3 separate regions of the Homo sapiens genome follow, and regions 2 and 3 are each linked to region 1. Evidence: promoter capture Hi-C in human tissues and cell types (Jung and others, 2019). All regions are on one chromosome and are shown on one strand. The core of a region is centred on a gene start or on the middle of the fragment in contact, and the rest is flanking DNA. Distances in the headings are between cores, read along the strand shown.

Region 1 (2,847 bases), core at 258-2,757:
TTCATGAACATGGGAAGTCTTTTCATGTAGTGAAGTCTTCTTTAACTTCTTTAAACAATTTTTGTGGTCATCAGAATATGAGTTTCACACTTTTTTTGTAAAATTTATTCTTAAGTAGTTCATTTTTGATACTATTATAAAGTTTCTTTCATAATTTCATTTTTGGTTTGCTCACTGCTACTGTATAGAAATAGAACTTTTTTTTTGTATTTATCCTGCATTTGTTATGGAGCTCATTTATTAGTTCTAATAGTTTCGTAGTTGATTCCATACGATTTTCTGTATACAAGATCATGTCTTCTGTGAATACAGATCATTTTACTTCTTTCTTTCCAAGCTTGATATCTTCTACTTTTGTTTCTTGTGTAATTGCCATAGCTAGAACTTCCAGTACAATGTTGAACAGAAATGGCAAAAGTGGACATCCTTGTCTTATTCCTGATGTTAGGGATGAAGCAGTCAGTCTTTCACCATTAAATATAGTAGCTTTGGGTTTTCAATATCTTCTATCAGGTTGATAAAGTTTCCTTCCATTCTTAGTTTGTCACACATTTTTATCACAAAGCCTGTTGAATTTTGTCAAATGCTTTTACTAGATTAGAATGATCATGTGATCTTTGTCTTTTATTCTGTTGATGTGATTGTTACATTGATTTATGGGTGGTAAACCAATCTTACATTTCTGGGTAAAATCCAAATATTTCTTTTTTTTTCCTTTTCTCTGACAGGGAATTGAACCTGGGCTGTGGCAGTGAGAGTGCTGAATTCTAACCACTAGACAAGCAGGGACCAAATACATATTTCTTAAATTGAATTTATCATGAGCACATTATATGAGGATTGGGTAAAAAGTAACTAAAAAAATGGCCAAAGAAACAAGATGGAAAATAACTTCCATTTTCAGATAGTAACTATTTAGGAAACATTGAAACTTTGGAAGTGAAATTGTTATTGTGTAAATATTTTAAAAAAGCATGTTTATACATCTTTCACACTCTTTGAGTCTTATATTTTTCCTTTAAAGTCTTGGAACTAGACCTTTATGATATTCTAAATTTAATAACACTTAACAACTTGCCCTAAATATCCCTACTTTATAACAATTACTGTAGTGGTTTCCTCATAGATTTGTTTTTTCCCCATCCCCCACACCCTTCCCAAGTACACACCCTTCCCAAGTATTATCCCAAGTGAGACTATCATTATCATCTATTATTCTTATTGGACATTTTAAAGTACCTGTACAAAAATGGCATTAGTTAGGGATATAGTAAAGTTACTTCTAGTCTTTTAATTGGCTTCTGCCCTTGGCGCTGTTTGAGCAAAGAGAAGAGACCCTCATAGAGAACTCTAAGGACAAAAAAACTTACTTTTAATTGTGACCCCAAGAATTATCAATATCTCTATTAACAGAGACAAGGGCTTCATCTTCTCTTAAGCAGCTTCTCTTCACTGTAACACAGGCAGAAACTAGGTGATTGGCCCAAGAGCTCCTCTTCTCAGGGACTGTGGTGGGGGCAGGAGTCAGTTGCTAAGCAACCATTTCCTTACTCTTGGGCCAATGGGCTGCCAGAGTGTTCCTTTCAAGCCGGAATGAAGGCAGCTGCTGGAGAATGTAGGCTGTGGAAAGGATCCACTGCTATTCCTCTGGCTGAAGATAAGGGGTAGGCTAGAAATTAGGGGTGGCTCTCTAACATGAAAGGAAGGGACCAGAAGTCCGACTCGTACGTGTCCACACGTTCAACTGTGTTCAGGGGTGCTGGAAGTTCTTATTTTTATGTTGCCTCTAGAGGTACAAACTACACTTATGTAAAAACACAATTAAGGTACATGAACTGATCTGACATCATCCTGTAAGCTGGTATCTCTAGGCTATGGCGGAAAAGAAACAATGGGCCAAGTCTGCTTTGTTCCCAATCTGGATGAAAATCTTTATCCTCTTTTCCAGTTAGAAACTGCTGAGGATTTACTGGAACAAAGGCAAACAAAGACTGTTTAACAATGTCTTTACATACCTCAGATAATACAGACATCTCACAAGTGGTACCTTCAAAGCTACGAGAAATCAAAATGAATATTTAGGGAAAACATATAAATATTAAAAATATCCAAGGCACAGAGCTAGTTGAGAAATTATGCCTACAAAAAATATCCAACTTTTACAGTCTGTCCAGGTCATTACTTTAGAAATAGACATTTTATTGTTTTGAATTTACAGTTTTATTCCTTTTATTAGTTTCCCATTGCTGTGATAACAAATTACCACAAACGTAATGGGTTAAAACAACAGGAATTTATTCTCTCATAGTTCTAGAGACCAGAATTCCAAAACCATTCTTACAGGGCTAAAATCAAAGACAAGGCTAGCTCCTCCTGGAGGCTCCAGGGAAGAATCCATTCTTGGCCTGGAATTTTTCAGCTTCTAAGTGGCTGCCAGCATTCCTTGATTTGTGACCACATCATTTCAGTCTCTGCTCAGTCATCACTTGCCTTCTGTAGTTTAATCTCCCTTTGTGCCCCTCTTATAAAGATACTTGTGATTACATTTAGGGCCCACCAACATGATCCAGAACAATCTCTCTCTCTCTCAAGATCCTTAATGTTGGCTGGGCGTGGCAGCTCACACTTGTAATCCCAGCACTTTGGGAGCCTAAGGCAGTTGGATTACTTGAGGCCAGGAGTTCGAGACCAGGCTGACCACCATGGCGAAACCCCGTGTCTACTAAAAATACAAAAATTAGCTGGACGTGGTGGTATGCGCCTGTAGTTTCAGGTACTCAGGAGGCTGAGGCATGAGAAGTGCTTGAATCCTGGGGCCAGGGGCCTGAGGGGTGGAGGTTGCAGTGA
Region 2 (2,847 bases), core at 216-2,715, 200 kb before region 1:
AATGCTTATAACATTGTATTTTGCACTTTATAATTCAGACCATGAAGACATTAATTTATTCTTTTAGCTCCTATCTATACGATATTGTGCTGGACACAAAGATGAAAGTGGAATTTCTTTTTTTTTCTGAGATGGAGTCTCACTCTGTTGCCCAGGCTGGAGTACAGTGGCACGATCTCGGCTCACTGCAACCTCTGCCTCCCGGGTTTGAACGATTCTCCTGCCGCAGCCTCCCAAGTAGCTGGGATTATGGGGGTGCACCACTATGCCCTGCTAATTTTTGTATTTTTGGTAGAGATGGGGTTTCACCATGTTGGCAAGGCCGGTCTTGAACTCCTGCCCTCAGGTGATCCGCCTGTCTCGGCATCCCAAAGCGCTGGGATGACAGGCGTGAGCTACTGCGCCCAGCCTTAAAGTGGAATTTCTTTTTTTTTTTTTTGAGACAGAGTCTCGCTCTGTTGCCCAGGCTGGAGTGCAGTGGTGCAATCTCAGCTCACTGCAAGCTTTGCCTTCCAGGTTCATGCCATTCTCCTGCCTCAGCCTCCCGAGTACCTGGGTCTACAGGTGCCCGCCACCACGCCTGGCTAATTTTTTGTATTTTTTAGTAGAGACGGGGTTTCACCGTGTTAGCCAGGATGGTCTTGATCTCCTGACCTCATGATCTGTCCGCCTTGGCCTCCCAAAGTGCTGGGATTACAGGCGTGAGCCACCATGCCCAGCCTCATAAAGTGGAATTTCTACGTAAAATCTGCTTAGATAAAACCATAGACTTGGGCCAGGGTGAGGAAGGGAGTGGTGGGGCTCCTAAAACACTATTATTGGTAATAGTAAATGCCATAGAAATGGTGCAGTCATTAAAGTGCAACAGGAATTAGGGGAAAAGAAAAAATCAGTAGGAGTTCATGTGGTCAAGGATTCTCAGGGGGCACAGAATCTGACCTGGGATTTGAAAGAATTTGAGTTGGTGGTTCCTAGCATTGGAAATCAGGGCATGGCAGGAGGAAAGGCACAGAGGTAGAATGCTGTAGGGTGTGATATAGTGATGTTTAAGGAAGATTAATCTGGGGATGGCATTCGAGAAAGATTGAAGAAGAGAAAGGGTAGAGAAACCCATCAGAAGGCTGTGTTAAAGGCATTGCAGGCATGAGAAATAAAGGCCTGCCACCCATGCAGAGCCAGCACATATAAATGATGGGATGTATGAGAGAGACCTGGAAGTATCAACAGAACTTGATGACTGATCAGATATGGTAGGCAGAGCAAATCTATTCTTTTAGTAACTCAACGCCAAAAAACATTTTTATTGATTCCTCTTATATCCTTCTCTCCCACATCTAATCCGTCAGCAGCTTTTATTTGCATTTCAAAATATAACCAAACTCTTATGTCTTCTTGCCACCTTCCCCATCACCGTGCTGTTCAGCTATCATCGCCCCTTGCCTAGATTATTGCAGTAGCCTCCTATTGGTCTCCCTGCTTTACCTTTGTCCCTGACAGTCTGTTGTCATGGCAAAGTATCCTCGTAAAACACAAATCAAATCATTGTCAGTCCTCTGCCCAGAACTGTTAGTTTGTCATCTAGTTTAGTAGTAATCCAGAGTCCTAATCTATAAGACCCTCAGGATTCTGTTTTTTTATCATGTCTCTGATCCCATCTTCTTCCTTTCACTCCCAACTTTTCAGCAACCCTGGCCTCCTTGCAGTCTCTCAAACAGGCCAGAGCTTTGCTCTATGCTCTTCCCCAAGGTATCTGTGTGTCTTAGTTGCTCACCTGTCAGATCTTTACTCAGCTGACTTCATCAAAGATTCCTCCCGTGACTGCTTTAGAAAATAGTGCCCCTGCTTTCTGCCGACTAGTTGCTTTATTTGCTTCCATAGCACTTACAAGCTCCTGATGTATGTTTATTTGGTGTCTTTCTTCTCTTACTGGATTTGCTCATTTTTGATCACTACTAAATCCTAGTACCTAAATCACAATGAGTATTTATTAAATGACTATTGCAAGATAACTTTAGAGTTTAAGTTACACCTTTTGTGACTGGAAAATTCAGGGGATGTGATGTGGCAAGGAGCACGGGATCATTCCTGTTTTAGATATGTTGAGTTTGAGATGGCAGTGGAATATGGTAGTATAAATAGCTGGCAGGTAGTTGGAAATGTGGAACTGGAATTGGGATATTGAGGTTAAGAGCATTGACTTGAAGTCAGGGCTTCAAACTTCAGCTCTGCCACTGTCTGTGTATACTCAGACCTTGGGCCAATCAATTGCTCTAGACCTCAGTTTCTATAAAATATGATCAATAATACCCATCTCAAAAGGTTGGTAAGGGGATTAAGTGAGGCAAAGTAAACCTGTCAAAGGAGGCTATAGTTCTTATTTGGAAGTCCCTTTCAGAAGTGACAATTGAAGCCGTAGAAATAGGTAAACTCTCTGAGGCAAGAATATAGAAAAGAACCTTCTGCAATTGTACTTAGGGTTGGGAGAAAGAGGAAGAGCCAATAAAGATGCCAGGAATAGTAAGATGGAAAGTGTCTTAGTAAGGTATCTTTTGATTGTTGAAAGCAAAAATGTGCTGAAGCCAGTTTAAACACAGAGACATTTGTTACAGAGAGGCTCTTATGTAACTCAGGGATCCAGAAATAGAGCCAGGCCTCACAAGAGATGGGAACTTTGAAACACCATAACAATGTTCCTCCTGTTCGCATGCACTCTGGTACTACATGAATGCTGTCTGGTTGCCTTCATTCTTTTTACTCCCTGTAGTCTATCCATAGTAGTGTTCATCAGTGTGTGTGGCCCCATATGAATATGCTACACCCAAGGGTAGCTGAAGCTAGCTTAGGCCA
Region 3 (2,847 bases), core at 125-2,624, 150 kb before region 1:
ACCTCCCGGATTCAAGCAATTCTCCTGTCTCAGCCTCCCGAGTAGCTGGGATTGCAGGCATCTGCCACCATGCCCAGCTAATTTTTGTATTTTTAGTAGAGATGGGGTTTTCACCATGTTGGCCAGGCTGGTCTTGAACTCCTGACCTCAGGTGATCCACCCGCCTCGACCTCCCAAGTGCTAGAATTACAGGTGTGAGACACTGCCCCCGGCCATGGGTCCATGTGTTCTTGTTGCTAAATGATGTGGGGAACAGTACAAGACAGTGGGAGAGCCTGGAAGAACTTGGAGTAATTTTCAGGTAAAGCTCATTGAAGTTGCTGAAAATGAAACAATGTCAAGGTGACATTCGTGGCCAGACAATTTGTGAAGGTTTATTTTTAATAATGGGAGTTCTGGGTTTTCTAATCACTTACTCGAAGATAGGATAAAATGCAATGTAAAATTAAAATTTGAAAATTCAAAACCATGAATTTTCTAGACCATGAGTCTCCAGTCAGTAACTACCTGACTAGCAGGATGGTTTGGAAGGGTTTTTCCCACACTTTAATACCTAGCCCAGCGCCACCCAGTGCTAAACTAATAAGGGGGTAACTTTGATATTAAAACCCAAAGCTGGGAGCTGGACACACTGGTGTGTGCCTGTAGTCCCAGCTACTCAAGAGGCTGAGGCAGGAGAGTCACTTGAACACAGGAATTCCAATCCAGCCTGGGCCACATAGTGAGACCCCATCTCTAAAGAAAAAAGAAAAACTGGGAAGAAGTAGATGCTCTTTGTGCATAATAAGGCTTAGGGAACACATGAGCATAAGATCGACCATCACAGTTCACGAGAAGTTCAATTTATTTATTTGATACATTCCCATCTAGAGGCCAGTCCATAGTGAGGGCTGCTTTTCTCACTCTCCACTCCAAGGATGCACAATTTCCTGTGTTCCCCCATCCAGCAGCAGAACCCTAGGGCAGAGGATGGCTGACAGCAACCCATGCTAAAGGTCATATCCCCACAGGAGGACCTCAGCCAGGAGCTGAGGCAGAGGAGCTAGGCTTATGGGGACTGTGGGTTCGGGAACGGAAATTGAATGAGGATGGGAGGTGGTTGAGAGGGTCTGGGGTGTGTCTCCCACCCACTGCGTGTCAGGAATGAATCTTGAGACACAGGAGTGGAGCCTGCACCTAGGGTGCCCCAGACAGAGAGTCCCAACCATGCTGGGACTCTGCATCTCTTGGCTCATGTCTCTTGAGCCAAAGCAAAGAACTAAGCATTATTCAAGAGTGTGTGTGTGTGTGTGTGTGTGTGTGCGTGTGTGTAGCGGCCAATGTGAGGGTGTGTGTGTGTTTAGCTAAGGAACAGAGGAGGACATCTCTTCCCCCCTCCACTTACCTTCACACATCTGCATTTCTTCAGTCTGAAAGGTGGGAAGATGAAGAGAGCCAGGCACGCGTCTAACTGGGCTGTCTAATCCTTGTTTTCCAAAACAGGCAGCTCAGGCTTGGGCTGCATTTTTTTTCTGCCAATTTTTGTACTGTAATTTATGTAACCATTGGTAGATTTTTAAACAGTATCTTTTATAGTAGGTTAAATATGGCTGCAAATTCTTTGCTACTTCTCTCACTGAGAGACGGAGTATAATGCCTGACTAACGGAACATGGTGGAAGGGATGTTCTGGAACTTCTGAGGCTTGGTCTTAGCAAAGCTGTGGCTTTTGCCTGTGTCTCTGTGAACATTCTCTGTGGGAATGCTGAGCTACAGTGTAAAAAGCCCAAATGCTCTGTCCACCATGCCAAGAGGCCGCATCTGGGATGTGGGTATACTGGTCAACAGTCACTGCTGAGTGAGTAAACCTGTCTTGGATTCTAGAACAGCCCATCCACTAAGTGACCAGAAGAATCACCTGACCACACCCTGCCCAAATTCCTGACCCACAAAATCTTGAGATAAAATGAAGTGATTGTTGTTTTAAGACCCTAACTTTTGGAGAAGTTTGTTAAGAAGCAAGCAATAACTGGAACCGTAACATAGAGGAAAGAACATCTGTGGTGTTAGATCTGGACTCAAATCACAGCTCCATTATTTATCAGCTACGTGATCTTTTCTAGCTTCTTCTGGCCTCAGTTTCCTCCTGTGTTAAACAGAGGTCATTCTAGCTACCTCCTAGCCTCATCATGAAGATGAAATGAGAAAACAGATGGAAACAGAGCCTGGCTCATAGCAGGTGCTTCAAAATGTTTCTTTCCTCTCTTCTCAGCCTCACCATGCCCTCTTCTCTAGGGCTTTCTGGGATGCCCAGTGAGGGGAATGCAGCAAACTATATAGCACCTCCACTACTCAAGATTTTGGAGAAAAGAATTCCAGGAGAATGTTACTGAGAAAATGACTCTGGACCCCTGCTCCAGAGAAACAAAATTATTTACCTGACTTGCCTTTGAAAAATGGATTTACTTGAAGAGCTACTCCAATTTAATGAAGAATTGGGGGAGGAAATCAAGGGAGTCACAAAAGCAAATTAGATTTTTTTTTTTTTTTTTTTTTTCCTGAGACAGAGTCTCACTCTGTCACCAGGCTAGAGTGCAGTGGTGTGATTTCGGCTCACTGCAGCCTCCGCCTCCTGGGTTCAAGTGATTCTCTTGCCTCAGCCTCCCGAGTAGCTGGGATTATAGGCGCCCGCCACTATGCTCGGCTAATTTTTGTATTTTTAGTAGAGACAGGGTTTCACCATGTTGGCCAGGATGGTCGCGATCTCTTGACCTCATGATCCGCTCGCCTCGGCCTCCCCAAGTGCTGGGATTACAGGTGTGAGCCACTGCACAAAACCAAGAATTAGATTTTTTAAAAAACAGATACC

Evidence for each region. Contacts are between HindIII fragments. The study calls those that stand out against the background at their distance.
Region 2: a fragment that was not itself captured here is called in contact with the fragment with the promoter of SEL1L2 in region 1 in 1 of the 25 tissues and cell types used here (mesenchymal stem cells).
Region 3: a contact is called between a fragment that was not itself captured here and the fragment with the promoter of SEL1L2 in region 1, in 2 of the 25 tissues and cell types used here (mesendoderm cells and pancreas).

Annotation. Positions count from the first base shown.
Region 1 is chr20:13,989,107-13,991,953 of GRCh38, forward strand. SEL1L2 (SEL1L2 adaptor subunit of SYVN1 ubiquitin ligase) reads right to left here and starts at 1,508. Exons shown (of 20, transcript NM_025229.2): 1 at 1,371-1,508. The coding sequence starts at 1,428. It also overlaps the pseudogene TRE-CTC10-1. The HindIII fragment of the contact is 28,140 bases long and covers 1-2,847 here.
Region 2 is chr20:13,789,055-13,791,901 of GRCh38, forward strand. The region is part of intron 3 of NDUFAF5 (NADH:ubiquinone oxidoreductase complex assembly factor 5); the gene reads left to right. Among named protein-coding and RNA genes, the nearest start is that of NDUFAF5, 5.4 kb to the left of the region's middle. The HindIII fragment of the contact is 3,687 bases long and covers 1-2,847 here.
Region 3 is chr20:13,843,087-13,845,933 of GRCh38, forward strand. No RefSeq gene overlaps it. Among named protein-coding and RNA genes, the nearest start is that of NDUFAF5, 59 kb to the left of the region's middle. The HindIII fragment of the contact is 5,333 bases long and covers 1-2,847 here.